2 separate regions of the Homo sapiens genome follow, and region 2 is linked to region 1. The links are contacts of gene promoters, found by promoter capture Hi-C in blood cells and fetal thymus (Javierre and others, 2016). All regions are on one chromosome and are shown on one strand. The core of a region is centred on a gene start or on the middle of the fragment in contact, and the rest is flanking DNA. Distances in the headings are between cores, read along the strand shown. Region 1 holds the start of PGGT1B (protein geranylgeranyltransferase type I subunit beta). Region 2 has its middle 77 kb from the start of TRIM36.

Region 1 (7,422 bases), core at 1,622-4,121:
ACTTATAAAAGAAACCTGGTAATTGATAAAGCTCCCAACCCAAGATTTAATATTCACTTGGATTATAAACTAGTAACTATCATTTTAAGAAGTCAATATAAAAGAAAAATCTCTGATGAAACCGCAGACAATACACTCTTTATTTTCATAAAGTCATTGTCACTAGAAAAGTAAAAATTATTCCTATTGGTCAGGCTAAAAGAAACAAGAAAATAAGAGTAATTTTGCCAAAATGGTGAATCTGAAAATAAGTGTCTAAATATCCAGTCTAATATTAGCCTTCTCAAAGCTTTTTCATACCTATTGGTAAAAAGAAACGAACAGAGGAACACCTGAATCATTAGTTTAACACTGTATACCTGTACCTAGACACATGGGGAGGCACTCTATGAATGACTGTGGAATTTAACTGCAATACCAGGTAAGAGTTGTGGCTTGCCCAATGTACTGTTTTGTCTTAAAGATCAGCAGAAACTTTGTGACCGGTCACCTTTGCTGAAAAGGTTGGAGTTTCTTCACAAGCATTTTAAAGTCAGTTATGAATCACATGCACCACAAAAGAACTTAGTGCTAAAGAAAATAAAGTCTGTGAGTTAGGAAAGAGAAAAACTTAAAATCACTACAGAAACTGACATATGCAGTTATCTTAAATGCGGTTAACTAGGCTATAAGAAAACCAAAATGATGTAAAAATTCTATTCATATGACAAACATTAGACAAAAAAGGATACAATATTGCTTAACCAATGCACCAAGGTGTTATATAACACCTGGTGTCGATCCTATGCTCATACTAAAGTTAAATAAGTCAGAAAATTTGTGCTGTTTTACTTATGCTGTGAACAGAATTACACAGTTTAATGCCAATGTGCATTATTCTATATGGATTTGTCCAAGCTGGAATTTTATAAAACAGGCCAAACACATTGGCATTTTGAAAATTAAATCACAGACTTATAGTGATAGCTGCAAGCAAAGTTCAACTGTTTAACAATCACAATTTAATCAGCTCACAGGACTTATACACTGCATCTATCTAAGCAGTGTATGTATACGATAAATATGCACATTATGTATCAATAACAAAAACAGGATGGAAGACTTTTTATCTAAAAGCTTTGAATTCACATAAAATTAATCCCTATTAAGATATAAACAATTTATCAACATTTTAAAACATCTCATATCACTACAATCATAACCTTTCGGTTTGGAAATCTGAATCTTTCAGTGAAGGTATAGGCTCTGCTAATCGATCAACACCTATGAGAGGAGGAAGGAATATAAACGTTTCACTCTTTCTTTTGTGAGAATCTGTTCATCCTTCAGGGCTCAGCTCACATTATTCAACAAATATTTCTTAGTGCTTCTCAGATACCAGGTACTATTTAAGGTCCTAGTGCAATGTTGACCAAAAGGACTAAGCTGTTGCAAATGTTGAAATAGAAACAATTGCCACTGGCCAATATGGCAACTGGGTACTTGAAATGTGGTGGCTACTACCAAAAGAATCACTTAATTTTTAATTTGATTTAATTAATTCAAATCAAAATAGCCAAATGTGGCTAGTGGCTACCAGATTGGACAGGGCAGCCCAGTCCTAAGTATAGAGGTAAACAAGATAGACGAAAATGTTACCTTTGTGAAGTTTATAATCCAGTGTAATAGAAAGACATTAAACAAATAAACCAATACATACGTAATGTGAGGTGGTCATTGGAAGTGGTCCCTTTAGGAAGGGTGTTTAAGGAAGGCCTCTCTAAAGATATCTGGATTATGTACATGCCTGTCTATATACTCCTATGAACACTACACTAACATATAGCACAGAACTCTATACAAATGCTTGTCTTGTTCAGCTGTACTCTGGCACCTACCATAATGTGGTTCTTGACCAAGTGTGCAGAAGTAATCTGCAAAGCTCCCCAAACTGATCCGGTCATGCAGTGTTCAAAATACACCAGCAACTCAGAATTTGGAAAACGTGGGGAAAGAACACAGCAAAAACAAGCCGCTCTTTCCTCCCATCCAGTCTCAAGCAGCTTTTGAGCTTCACTTCAAAACACAGCAATGCGGAGCAAAGATTGCCTTCTCCTTTCTTTCTTCTCATCCCCAGCTTTTACTGTAAATGAAGTCGCTTAGTCTCTGCCGCACCACACTCTTCAGCTATTGCGATACTTTTAACAGGCTGCTTCACGCAACACCACACCTCTTTCGCCTACCATTAGATTTATAGTTCCCACAAAGTTTCTAAGACCTTAGAGGTTCTCTGCCGCTCCTACACATAAAACACCATACAGACACTCTATTAAGAGTTAATGACTTTAGAGAGGACAAGGATGCACAGAAGTATTCATCTAAAAATACGACGACAAACTTTGTCCTTTTCCTTTTACACTCGGAAGTAATGAGGCAAAGTGACAGGCTATGGGAGCGGGTAAAAAAGCAGCTCAGAGTTGCCAGAAGAAAAGGGAAGTGAAAAAGCCGGAAACTGGAGATGCCACAGCCCTCGACCTACAGCCTTCCAGACCTTCCCACCGTACGGCGGGAGAGTGGGGGTAACCTCAAGCCCACTTGAAACCAGTCAGTGCCAACTGGGCGGCCGCGCAGCCCCCTTCCGGCGCCCAGTTTGCGGTCCGACTCCGCCGCGCCTTTCCGCTGGAGCCCGGGCCTTGTGCCAGCCTGGCTGACTGTGCCACGAGTTACCTGCTTGTCTCGAGTGAAGAATAGCGCTCCGGCAAAACCTGGAGGCAGCGCTGGAAAAATCGCACGTGCCGATCCCGTAAGAAATCCAGCCGCTCTCCCTCACCGCTCCCTGCTAGCCTCTCATCCTCAGTGGCCGCCATGCTGCTCCGGAAGCGACGTCCGCCGCGACCCGGAATCAGTGCCCGCGGAGAGAAAGAACCCTCCTGTGCTGAACCACAGGGTGCCGGGTGAGGGGACCTGCGCCCGCCGCAGACTAAGCCAGTATTTGAAACCGCTATCATCTGGGTCCTGTGCAGCACTTCCTCTCTCCGATATCTCCCTAGCTAGCGCATGACCCTACCTTTTCTACTCAAAGCCCTCGAGGCTTGTAAACACCTCGCAGGCCTTGTGAAAATCAAGTCCACAAATCCCTCCGTCAGAATTTTTATCTTGGGAAGCGCAAGGTCAAAAGCATCAAGTACGCTTTGAGACAATTCTGGCTCTGTAGAACCTGAGGATGGTATATCTGAAAACGAGGATGGATCAGTATAAACTTGCTAACAGATTCATTTTTGGAGGGCCAGTTTTAAGCCGAACGGTTAGGGAAACAGAAAAACAAACCAGTGGAGATAAATGTTTATTGACACTACAAAAGCTCAGAGACTTTCCTAATCTTAATCCTTTCTGGATACCAGGAATCACTTAAAAATCTGTGTATAATGCCCCCAAACATATACAACATGCATATTCATACCTATATATGACTGCTTGCGTCATTCTTTTACAAATCTTACAGATTTTACTTTGCTTGAGTCGACGTGTTATCAAGAATCAATGGTGCATCAATCTGCAACAGCAAAATAAGCTCAATATCTTCTCCAATTACCTGCATTCTAAAAAATTTAAACATGCTTCTAGTTCTTTTTTCCAAAAATAGGGATTTAAGTTGTTTAGCCGGTATACTATGCCCTTTAAACTTTCATGAGGCATTCCTGAGTAGCGGGTGGGGGGATCCACCCAATAATATAACTAAACTAGGTTCCCTGTGATCAACTTAGCTAATAAAATTTTGGGTTTAATTTTGTTAGCTTTCTTAGAAAATGTAATTCTTATACTCTATGGGCTGGGGTAATCTTACACTTATTCAACAATCCAAAGTGCTCTGAATAATTTTTGGTACTATTAACTACTTATTCACAGGTATTCCTGCATGTCTTTACAAAATGCCGCATTTAACAGCCACAGACGGATTCTAGGCTGTCCTCGGTACTTCCCTACAAATACGGAGCTCACAGTCCTTGCCCTTCAGGTGTGCCCAGTCTGGAGTTTCCACTGTTATTAAAATTAAGATCTCTCACTTAGCACACATACCCCCAAATGCCTGAAGATTTTTAAAGTGGAGTCTTATACACATTTAACTTACTGGAATCAGCTATGGACACTCTATACATTCTCAGAAAATTAATTCTAATAAACATGGCCCTTAAGTTAGGGAAGCCAAATGTTTCATCTGATTCTCAGCTCAAGGACTAGCAATCTGATCCAAATCTAGAGGAAAAATTTGCAATGTGGGACTCATTCAGAGATAATACAGAATGCCTCCTAGGTCGGTAAAAGGCTTTCCATGAGTGATTTTATCCCTACAAGATTTTTGGCATGTGCATAACAGAATGGGAATGATAGAACATCTATATAATTGAGTGTTATTTAGCCATTACATGATAATGTTTGAATTAGGTAGAAATGTACGAAAATGTGTAATGCAATTATAGCATAGTAATTAATATGTACTGTATGACTGTAACAATTTAAAAATATGTAGGTATGTTTTTTGAAAAAGTTACCCTGGAATTATGGGTACTTTATAACATTTCTTCTTTAGTGTTTTTTCTATGTTTCTTATTAATGTAGTTTTTTTGTTTCCAGGCTTACTTCATTTTATTTTTCTTGTACAACCCGATGTTGTAGCCACCGCTGGAGCCTGGGTCCTCTGCACGGAGACTCTGGTGTGGGTCTTGAGGAGGTGGTCAGTGAATTCCTGATAGGGAGACTTGGTGAATACAGTCTCCTTCCAGAGGTCAGGGTTCAGCCTGCTGTAGACCTTAGAGATGGCATAAAAAATGACCATGACGAAGTTGCCCAGGATGGCAGTGCAGCCCCTGGCTGAGGTGTAGCAGTCATTGATAGCTGCCATCAGCAGCAGCTTCTTGGCCATGGGGGCCGAGACGATGCCAGTGCTCCTGGGCGCAGGGATGACCCGCGCCAGCACAGAGCCGTGGCAGCCTGTCACCTTGCAAGGGATGGTGTGGGGCTTGCCGATCTTGTTCCCCCAGTAGCCTCTGCGCATGGGCACAACGGAGAGCTTGGCCAGGATGATGGCCCCGCAGATGGCAGTGGCCACCTCCTTGGAGCACTTAACACCCAGATCAGTGTGGCCACTGTCCCTGATGGCAACAAACGCCTTGAACCTGGTGTTCTGGCCGGTGCAGGTCTGCTTCTGCACTGGCACGTCTTCAAAACCTCCTTCTTGAGAGAGGCCCCAGGAAAAAGTCAATGATCACAGACTCCTTGATGGGCAGAGAGAAGAGATAGATCTACTCCAGGGACTTAATCTTCATGTCCTTGACCAGGCAGCCCAGCTTGGTGACAACCATCTACTCCTTGTCCTTGGTCTTGCCTCCACGAGCTCTGCAGCTGGCCCCGGCCCCGTCCATGGCCGCGACACGAGTTCCCCATCCCAGGGCCGGCTGAGACCCCAGTTCCCCATCCCAGAGCCCCCCGGGCCTCCGGGCCTCCCAGGTCCCCCGCTGCACCGGCATCATCCGCGATTTGGTGTTTTCTCAGAGAAAAAGCTAATGTACTTTTTAAACCAGTATAAGAAATATTTATTTGACATCTTGTTTATGAACCTGTAACTTCTATGAAGTCTGTAACTGAAGATATTTGTTTATCTTACATCTTTTATATAAAGGATCTATATAATAAATTCATCATTTATTTCAGATTCAGCTAGAAAAACTGATTTCTTCAGAGGAACTTCCATACTTTTCTTTATTTAAAAAAAAAATAAAAAAACAAAGCCATAAGAATCACATCATCCAGAATGCTTACCTTGGATACAGGAATTTGAAAGCTGCATTTCGGTGCAACAAAAAGCAACACGTAAAAAAGCAATATGTAAGAAACATTTTCTGTATCTTGTAGCTTCTCAGTTCTGCTTTTAATTTCCTCATCTTGCTCTGTGTTTTATTTATGTATTTATTTTTTGAGATGGAGTCTCACTCTGTTGCCCAGGCTGGAGTACAGTGGCACAATCTCAGCTCACTGCAACCTCCGCCTCCCGGGTTCAAGCGATTCTCCTGCCTCAGCCTCCCAAGTAGCTGGGAGTACAGGCGTGAACTACCACACCAGGCTAATTTTTGTATTTTTAGTAGAGATGGGGTTTTACCATGTTGGCCAGGCTGGTCTTGAATTCCTGACCTCAAGTGATACGCCCACCTTGGCCTCCCAAAGTGCTGGGATTACAAGCCTGAGCCACTGCACCCAGCCTCTATATTTTATCTCTGAACTACTTCAAATCATTACAAAAAAGTTTTGGATAACAAAATCAGCACTCCTGTTTAAGGATCTTTTATGTCAATTTTCTCATTCTGCACCAATAACTGTACAAATCAGAATTCAGTTTCTAAAATTTGGAAGCCATCTATTTTGAATATTAACTGTAAAATAAGAAAAGATTTTCACCGCTACTCATAGTACCTTTCTAACTGAGTCATTTAACCTAAATGCATCCCATTAACAATGAAAGATAAAGATAAACAATGAAAGATTAAGATAAAAAAAGATTTATAAGAGATAAATTTCCTGTGTTTTTATGTATATAGTATCTTTCCTATGAGAACAAATTAAATAACGTTAGAAAGGAATATTTTATAATATGAAAAGTTGAACTGTATTCAATTACATTGTGTTTTCATGTCTAAAAGTTTAGAAATTTAAGAACTAACTCTTGCCCAAATATGTTAATCTAACAGCTTTAAAAGATCTTATTCATTCATTCCTTCATTCATTCATTTTAGAGACAGGGTCTCTCTCTCACCCAGGCTGGAGTAGAGTGGTGCCATCGTAGCTCACTGCAACCTGGAACTCCTGGGTTCAAGTGATCCTCCCACCTTATCCTCCCAAGTAGCTGGGACTACAGGTGTGTGCCACCATACCCAGTTAATTAAACTTTTTTTTTTTTTTTCTGTAGAGACAGGGTCTCCCTGTGTTGCCCAGGCTAGTGTCAAACTCCAGGCCTCAATTCTCCTACCTTGACCTCTGAAAGTGCTGGGATTACAAGCATGAGCCACCATGCCCCACCTAAAACATTTTAAGTGCCATCAAGAGAAATCACAGTATTTTAAAGCTGGCTTATTTCAGATGATGTTTCAGAACAAAGAATTTTCCTATTTTGAGGCAAACAGAAGCAGAAAAGAAAACTGCATTAGCCAGGAAGATGTGAAAGACACAAAGATTTTATAAATCTGTGAAATCCAGAAAGGCTGAAGGAAAATTTGGAATTGCTGAAGGAAACCAAAAAGATTATATCAATAATACAATTAATAGGGTATATGAGAGACATATTTTTAAAATAAATATTCTCTATATAAAACAAAGCATGCTTCAAACAAATACAAAATATTTATTACACAAAAATGTCATAACTGACAAACTGCCAATTTGTTAAACATAGAA
Region 2 (7,422 bases), core at 1,959-4,458, 170 kb before region 1:
GGGGAAAAAAATCTTGCAATATATATGGCAAAGGGTTAATATCCTTAATAAATAAAAAAAGAAGACAGATGGTGAATAATCTTTATTCATCAGTTTCACCAACATATTTGCCCTGAACAGGATTGTCAGCTCTCAGTAGATATCTGGAACTCTATGCTGACTTAGGAGGAAAATTTAAATAGTCTACTGGTAAAAAGAAGTCAGCATTTGTCAGTGACAGTAGAACTGCTAGAAACTAGAGAAATCCAGGAAAAGCATGGCTTCATTTCCATGTTTTCACACTGAGCAAAATGAGGAAAGGAAAGTGTTATATTGGGGCTGAACTGGCACATTTAAAATATAGAACAACTTATAACCCTGTGTTCTGGGGCTTCCTGAAAGTTAACAAAGATCTAGCAAGCTACAGGGGAAATAAATAATAGGAGAATCATTCAATAACAGCTCTGTCTTTAATAAAGCTAATGTTTTGACAATTTTATAATGTTTGTATGGTTTTTGTTTTGTGGTAAGCTCAGAAGTAATCACAAAATATAATATGAAAGCATTATTATGATAAAAATAAAAACAACAAAAACAGATTGAACTAAGAGCAAAGGAAATCAATTCAATACCTTGCATTTCTCAAGGACTGATAGCTACACAGAGGGAGATAGCTACCAATACTGTAATTTGAGGGGCCCTAGAAAGGCTCCAGTGGAGATAATTCCTCTCATTTCCTCCTCTGAAATTCAGCCTTTGAAATTTAATTCGTTAAGATCTCAAACGCCTTTGGTTTCTTATGCTAATAAGGACAAGGATATCAGCCTAAAGTCATTTCCAACTATCACCCTTTCAAGGCCCCAGTGGAAAGAGAATTGAGACTAGAAAATGAGGTGAGAACCCTAAAAAGGGGAAACCTGGGAGGAGGCAAATACACATTTCTAACCATTCTAGTTGTACCAAGGTCAACATATCTCCCAGGCACACACATCACACAGGGACATCTGAAAGGGAGAGAACTGACAAGGAAACCTGCATAGATTCTAGAGCAGGTGCTCGCTAAGGTGTAACTTGCTGGCTTAGAAGGTACTGGCAAAGACACAGGGTTGCAGACATCGACTTCTTAGCAGATATCCTCCCACTCACTGCCTCAGCCTTCAGGGCTTCTTCAGAATTTCACAAATGCACCTTTGTTGTTGTTGTTGTTGTTGTTGTTGTTGTTATTGTTGTTGTGACAGATATTTGCTCTGTTGCCCAGGGTGGAGTGCGATGGTACTGGCTCAGCTCACTGCAACCTCCTCCTCACAGGTTCAAGCAATTCTCCTGCCTCAGCCTCCCAAGTAGCCAGGATTACAGGGGCCCACGACCATGCCTGGCTAATTTTTGTATTTTTAGTAGAGACGGGGTTTCACCATGTTGGCCAGGCTGGTCTGGAACTCCTGACCTCTGGTTATCCACCTGCCTCAGCCTCCCAACTTGAGCCACCGCACCTGGCCACAAATGCACCATTTCAAAGGAGTTTCCCCCAAGATGAATAATTGCCCCAGCGGTGGGCTTCCAACTTCCCTGCAGCCATGCCTGCCCTCTGCATTTGCATATCTTGCTGGGTTTTCACAACAAAAAGAGTTGGTCACAGGTGAATCAGCAGCTCAAGAAAAGCACAAATATTTTTCTGAGAAAATAAAATAAAAAGCTAAAAGCTTGCAAAGCCACCAGATGCTGAATACCTCAGAAAAAGAATTGCTTTGTAATACTGCTTTGAAAGGAGCTTTCTAAGCAGATGAGGTTCTCCCTCCTTCTAAACCACCTCCCAGCAAACCAGATATTCAGGTCATTCTCATTACTTTCTGGGGGTATCTCCATAGTTTAGAAGGCAAGATCACAAATTTTTTTTTTTTTTCCTGAGACAGGGAGCTCTGTTGCCCAGGCTGGAGCGCAGTGGCAGGATCACCACTCACTGCTGCCTCAGGCTCCCAGGCTCAAGCAATTCTTCCATCTCACCCCTATGAGAAGCTGAGACTACAGGCATGCCACCTTGCCTGGCTAATTTTTTTTTTAATAGAGATGGGACTCTCCTTATGTTGCCCAGGCTTGTCTCAAACTCTTGGACTCAAGAGATCCTCCTGCATCAGCCTCCCAAAGTGCTGAGATTACAGGCATGAGCCCCCATGCCTAGCCATAAGGTCACTAAGTTCCAAAGAAAACTAACATTTCTTTAGCACTTACCAATGTCAGGCACTATGAAAGTGACTTTCATGCATTTAATCCTTAATTCACCTCTATTTTGGGTATGAGAATAATTATCCCTGTTTTACAAATGTAGGAACTGGTACTTATAGAGCTCAAACCTATGCTCAAAGTCAGCAACTGAGGCAGAGCCAGACAGCAAAGTAAAAAGAAAAGCCTGCTGACACTACAGCTAGAGCCCTTCCCCTTCTGCACTGTACTCTCAGATTCACAAATATGGGGAAAAAAATGCACCTAAACTTGGCCAAGATCTACAAAGGTCAATTGAATAAAGGAGCTAGAAATACTTGGGTGAGCTTTACTGGGGAAAGGGGGGAGGGAAGTAAAAAGTGGCTCCTCCACTACTTAAATAGTGTCAGTACAGTAATTCATGAAGCAGGTACTTACGAGCTCATGCTGTGTGCTAGACAGTGTTCTGAGCACGGGAGATGGACTAGAGGGGGACAAATCAAATCCCTAACCTCATGGAGTTTAGATTGATAATGAAGACCTACAACATTGCAGCTGGCAGTGAGAGACAGGACTAGCTGGATTTCCTAGGCCAACTAAGAATCCCTAAGCCTAGCTGGGAAGGTGACCACATCTACCTTGAAACACAGGGCTTGCAACTTGGCTCACACCTGACCAATCAGCTAGTAAAGACAGCTCACTAAAAGGCTAATTCGGCTAAAACAGGAGGTAAATAAATAGCCAATCATCTATCACCTGAGAGCAGAGGGGGATGGATAATGATCGGGATACAACCCCAGGCATTCCAGCCAGCAATGTCAACGCCCTTAGGGTCCCCTCCCACTGTATGGGAGCTCTGTTTTCACTCTATTAAATCTTGCAACTGCACACTCTCTGGTCTGTGTTTATTCCCGTTCGAATTGAGCTTTTCCTCACCATCCACCACTGCTGATAGCTGTCGTTGCAGACACCGCTGCTGACTTCCACCCCTCCGGATCTGGCAGGGTGTCTGCTGCACTTCTGATCCAGCGAGGCGGCACCCAATTGGGCTAGAGGCTCCCCATTGTTCCTGCCTGGGGTTTGTCCTAATCGAGCTGAATAGAGCTATAACACTCACTGCATGGCCCAAGATTCCATTCCTTGGAATCCATGAGGCCAAGAACCCCAGGTCAGAGAACAAGAGGCTTGCCACCATCTTGGAAGCCGCCCACCACCTTCTTGGAAGCAGCCCACCACCATCCTGGGAGCTCTAAGAACGAGGACACCCCGGTAACAGCAGCATGGGCTATGAAGAAAAACAAGGAAAAGTGGTGTGATTTTGGAAAGGGTGGCCAGGGAAAGCCTCTCTGAGGAGAAGACACTTGAGCAAGAGGCCTACCTGAAGCAAAGGAGTCAGCCATCCACAGGGCTGAGGGAAGAGTTTAGGCTGAGGCACCGTAAGTGCAAAAGCTCTGAGGAGTTCATCTGACTTGTTCCAGGAACAGCCAGGCCAGTGAGTCAGGATATCCATGAGTGAGGAAGACTGGTAGGAGAGGAGGTCAGAGAACCAGCTATGGGACAGGTAATAGGACTGTGTTTCTCAAATTTTAGCCGGTCTCAGTCTCACTAGCATACCCTGTGTGTGAAAACTCATTTTGCTGGCTACCCCTAGAGTTTCTGCCTCAATAGGTGGGGCCTGCGAATTTGCATTTCTAACAAGTTCCCAAGTGATACTGATCCTGCTGGCCTGGGGACCGCAGTATGGCAGCCTTCCAAGTCCTGATAAGACTTTGAATTATGTTCTAAATGTGACTGGAAGCACTGGAAGATTCTGAGCAGAGGATGAAGAAAAGTTATAATGGGACAAGGGTAGAAGCACGGAACCAGAATGGAAGCCATTACAAGAGTTCAGGCAAGAAATAGTGATGGTCTAGAATGAGAGCAGCTGTGTTGGAAAGTGGGGAAATGGTCGGACTCAGACTTTCTGAAGGTAGTACTGATGCACTTGTTCATGGACCTATGTGACATGAGAGGCAAAGAGAAATCAAGAGGTGAGTCCTAGGCTGTAGACTGACCTACTGAATGGAAGCATTTGCTAAAATGGGAAGATAATTTTGGAATTGGGTTTCATTTTGAACACAATTACTTTGAGATTCCCATTAGACATCCAAGTGGGGTAGTGAGTGGGCAGATAAATTACACGTCTCAAGCCTTGGGAGACGTCCAGGACAGAGGTATAAATTTGAAAGGTATATTTTTATAACCAATAGGTACAATAATAGGGCTAGATGAGATCATGAGAGAGTGAGTGCAAATGCTCACTCTCTCTTGGCCCAAATACTGAGCCCTGAGGCACACAGAGTAGACAGAGAAGGAACAGCCTATGAAATAGGAAAAACCCAGGAGAATAGGAAGAAGCTGTGGAAATCAACAGAAAAGGTGTTTCCATAAGAAGGTCATAACCCAATGCTGATAGAGTTGGAGTAAAAGGAGGACCAAGATGTGACCACTGGAATTGGCAACCTGCACCTGGAAACATTTTGGTGAATTAGTGGCCAGAGCTGGATTTACCATAAGGCTAATGAAGCTTAATTTCAAGGCCCCTCACTTACACAGGAGCATCAAAATTTCCAGAAAGGGCACTAGCAAGATATTCACATGTTCATATGTTTTTGTAAAATTTACAAAGGTAAAACTAAGACTTCTATTAAATTTGTCTTTTCACTTTGACTTCCCTTCTGTTAAAAGGCACTGGTGTTGCCAAGGACAATTTTGGAATCTGGCTAAGGGCAAGTTGAGTTGGGGATACATTTATTTTGTGTTTAACAGGGTATATTATATGACTCATGGTCACTTTCATATAGAATAGTTATTATCAGTTGTTCTGGAATATGAGATCTTTGGTTTTCACATCTGTGGAGTTTTCCATGATTTATAGTAAGGGAGTCGGGAGCTTGGAAAATAGACCAAATGCCACTGAGCATCACCAAAGAACCTGTATCTCAAGAGTTTCTCCTGGTGCCTGCCTTACATTCTAATCTTGTGTGGACATGAGAGAGAATGGGAGGTTCATCAGAAATTGTATTTTAATCAGCTAGGGCACAGGTCTTAAAAGTTATACCTATTGTTATTTTTGTTGGTATCTGGTTTTAGTAGAAGAGCCTATTCAATTAAAATCTTACAGGGACACTCATTATTTGCCAGAGACAAAAGCAGTTTTAAAGTCGATTGGGCCTCATGCATCCTGGTTTCCCCAGTAGCCCAACCAGCCTCTAAGGACTGTACTTTGACAACTGCTGGTGTGGGCATTTGGATTTCTCTGACTCGTGTCACAATTACATACACTATTAGAGCAAAAGGAGAATTGTTTGGACTCCAAATTTCAGATGGGCAGACTAAACCTAAGTTAAGTTTGGCCTTGCCTACCTACCTTCATGGTCTACACAAATACATCACAGAAAAATAGACGAATTTTAGAATATCCAAAGCAAACAAAGAAAATGTGTGCTTAACCGAGAATATTTCTGTGCCAAAGGAAAGCTGGTAGCTGAATGATCAAGAAAATAACTAAACTTGTAAGAACTAAGCTGATAGTTATCCCCCTACGCGCTCAATTTTCCCACCCACCCAAAACTTACCTGATATAAATTGACAGATATTGATCGGACATCCAGCTTTCCAGGGCCCTTCCCTGGAAATGCTGATTTGGCCTGCCTGCAATGAGGCCCAATAATTTGTATTTTAATAACCAAGCAGTTCTTCTCATCAAGGAAATTGTAAAGTAGTAGATTTGAATGTTGCTACTCAAAATGTAATAAGGGAATCAGCAACAGCACAGCATTACCAAGGAGCTTGTTGGAAATGCAGACTATTAGAATCTACCCTAAACCTCCTGAATCAGAACTTGCATTTTCTGAGGTTGCATAGTGCTGAGAATATTGGAAGGAAAAATAAGCTAATCCAAATCATAACTTGAAGATTTCAATGCTCCCCTCTCAGTAATTCACAGAATAAGTAGATAAAAACTCAGCAAGGATATAAGGATGTGAACACCATCAACTAACCTGACCTAGTTGAAATTTGTAGTACACTTCACCCAGCAACATTCTTTTTAAATGAACATGAAACATTCATCAAGATAAATCATATTCAGCATGATAAAACAAGTCTCAGTATACATAAGAGTAAAGTCATATAGAGTCTATTCTCTTATCACAACAGAAATAAACTAGAAACAATAAAAGAAAGATACTGGAAAATCTTCAAGTAGTTGGTAATTAAGGAAATCACTTCTAAGTAGCACATGGGTAAAAAGAAATTACAAGGAAAATTAGAAAACATTTTTAACTGAGTGAAAATCAAACTCAACATGTTAAAATGTGTGGGATGTAGCTAAAGCAGTGCTTAGAGAAATTTATAGCGTTAAGTGCTTGCATTAGAAAAGAATAGCCTGGGAAAAATGGCACAACCCCATCTCTGCAAAAACTATAAAAATTAGCTGGGCTTGGTGGTGCATCCCTGCAGCCCCAGCTACTCAGGAGGCTTAAGCGGAAGAATGGCTTGAGCCTAGGAGATCGAGGCTGCAATGAGTCATGATCACGCCACTGCACTCTAGCCTCGGCAACAGAGCAAGCCCCTGTCTCAAAAAAAAAAAAAAAAAAAAAAAAAAAGGCATGTTTCCAATACTGAAAAATATTTAAAATATCCTGTACAGTTATTCATTTATTGACTGGGGTTCAAATCCATTCTTCATTGCCTGCTCCATAATAAAAGAGAAAGAACCTGTATCTTCCTTTTGCCAGCTGGCACATTGTTAAGCTTTGTCAGTAGAGCACATGGAAGGAACACAGGAGGAGGGAAAAGCATGGCTTTTCAGATTCTGGTGTGCTCCTCTCAGTAGGCTTCTGAAGCACGCAGCTTCCACCACTCTTGGCTCGTACAGCATGTGGCAGCAGGCAACTGGCAGCACACAGTCTATAGCAGTTCCCTGTAGGCAGCTTTCTCTGACACCCACTTTGGCCCTAAGGCATAATACCTCCCTCTGAACAGCTCCCTTAGCATTTCTTTTTTTTCTTTTTTTTTTAATCTTCTCTTTTTTTTTTTGAGATGGAGCCTCGCTCTGTCACTTAGGCTGGAGTGAAGTGGCACAATTTCAGCTCACTGCAACCTCCACCTCCCGGGTTCAAGCAACTCTCCTGCCTCGGCCTCCTGAGTAGCTGGAATCACAGGCGCCTGCCAACATGCTCAGCTAATTTTTGTACTTTCAGT

The links. The method cuts DNA at HindIII sites, captures the fragments that hold promoters and counts their contacts. A CHiCAGO score of 5 or more calls a contact.
Region 2: a fragment that was not itself captured here is called in contact with the fragment with the promoter of PGGT1B in region 1 in 3 of 17 cell types (M0 macrophages, M2 macrophages and naive B cells); the score reaches 6.8 in M0 macrophages.

What each region holds. Positions count from the first base shown.
Region 1 is chr5:115,260,006-115,267,427 of GRCh38, forward strand. It overlaps PGGT1B (protein geranylgeranyltransferase type I subunit beta), which reads right to left and starts at 2,872. Exons shown (of 9, transcript NM_005023.4): 1 at 2,707-2,872. The coding sequence starts at 2,846. It overlaps CCDC112 (coiled-coil domain containing 112), which reads right to left. Exons shown (of 10, transcript NM_001040440.3): 10 at 7,185-7,422. It also overlaps the pseudogene RPS2P26. RefSeq lists enhancers at 2,731-2,910, 2,941-2,990. The HindIII fragment of the contact is 10,345 bases long and covers 1,115-7,422 here.
Region 2 is chr5:115,089,504-115,096,925 of GRCh38, forward strand. No RefSeq gene overlaps it. Among named protein-coding and RNA genes, the nearest start is that of TRIM36, 77 kb to the right of the region's middle. RefSeq lists enhancers at 1,021-1,520, 1,521-2,022. The HindIII fragment of the contact is 3,062 bases long and covers 1,678-4,739 here.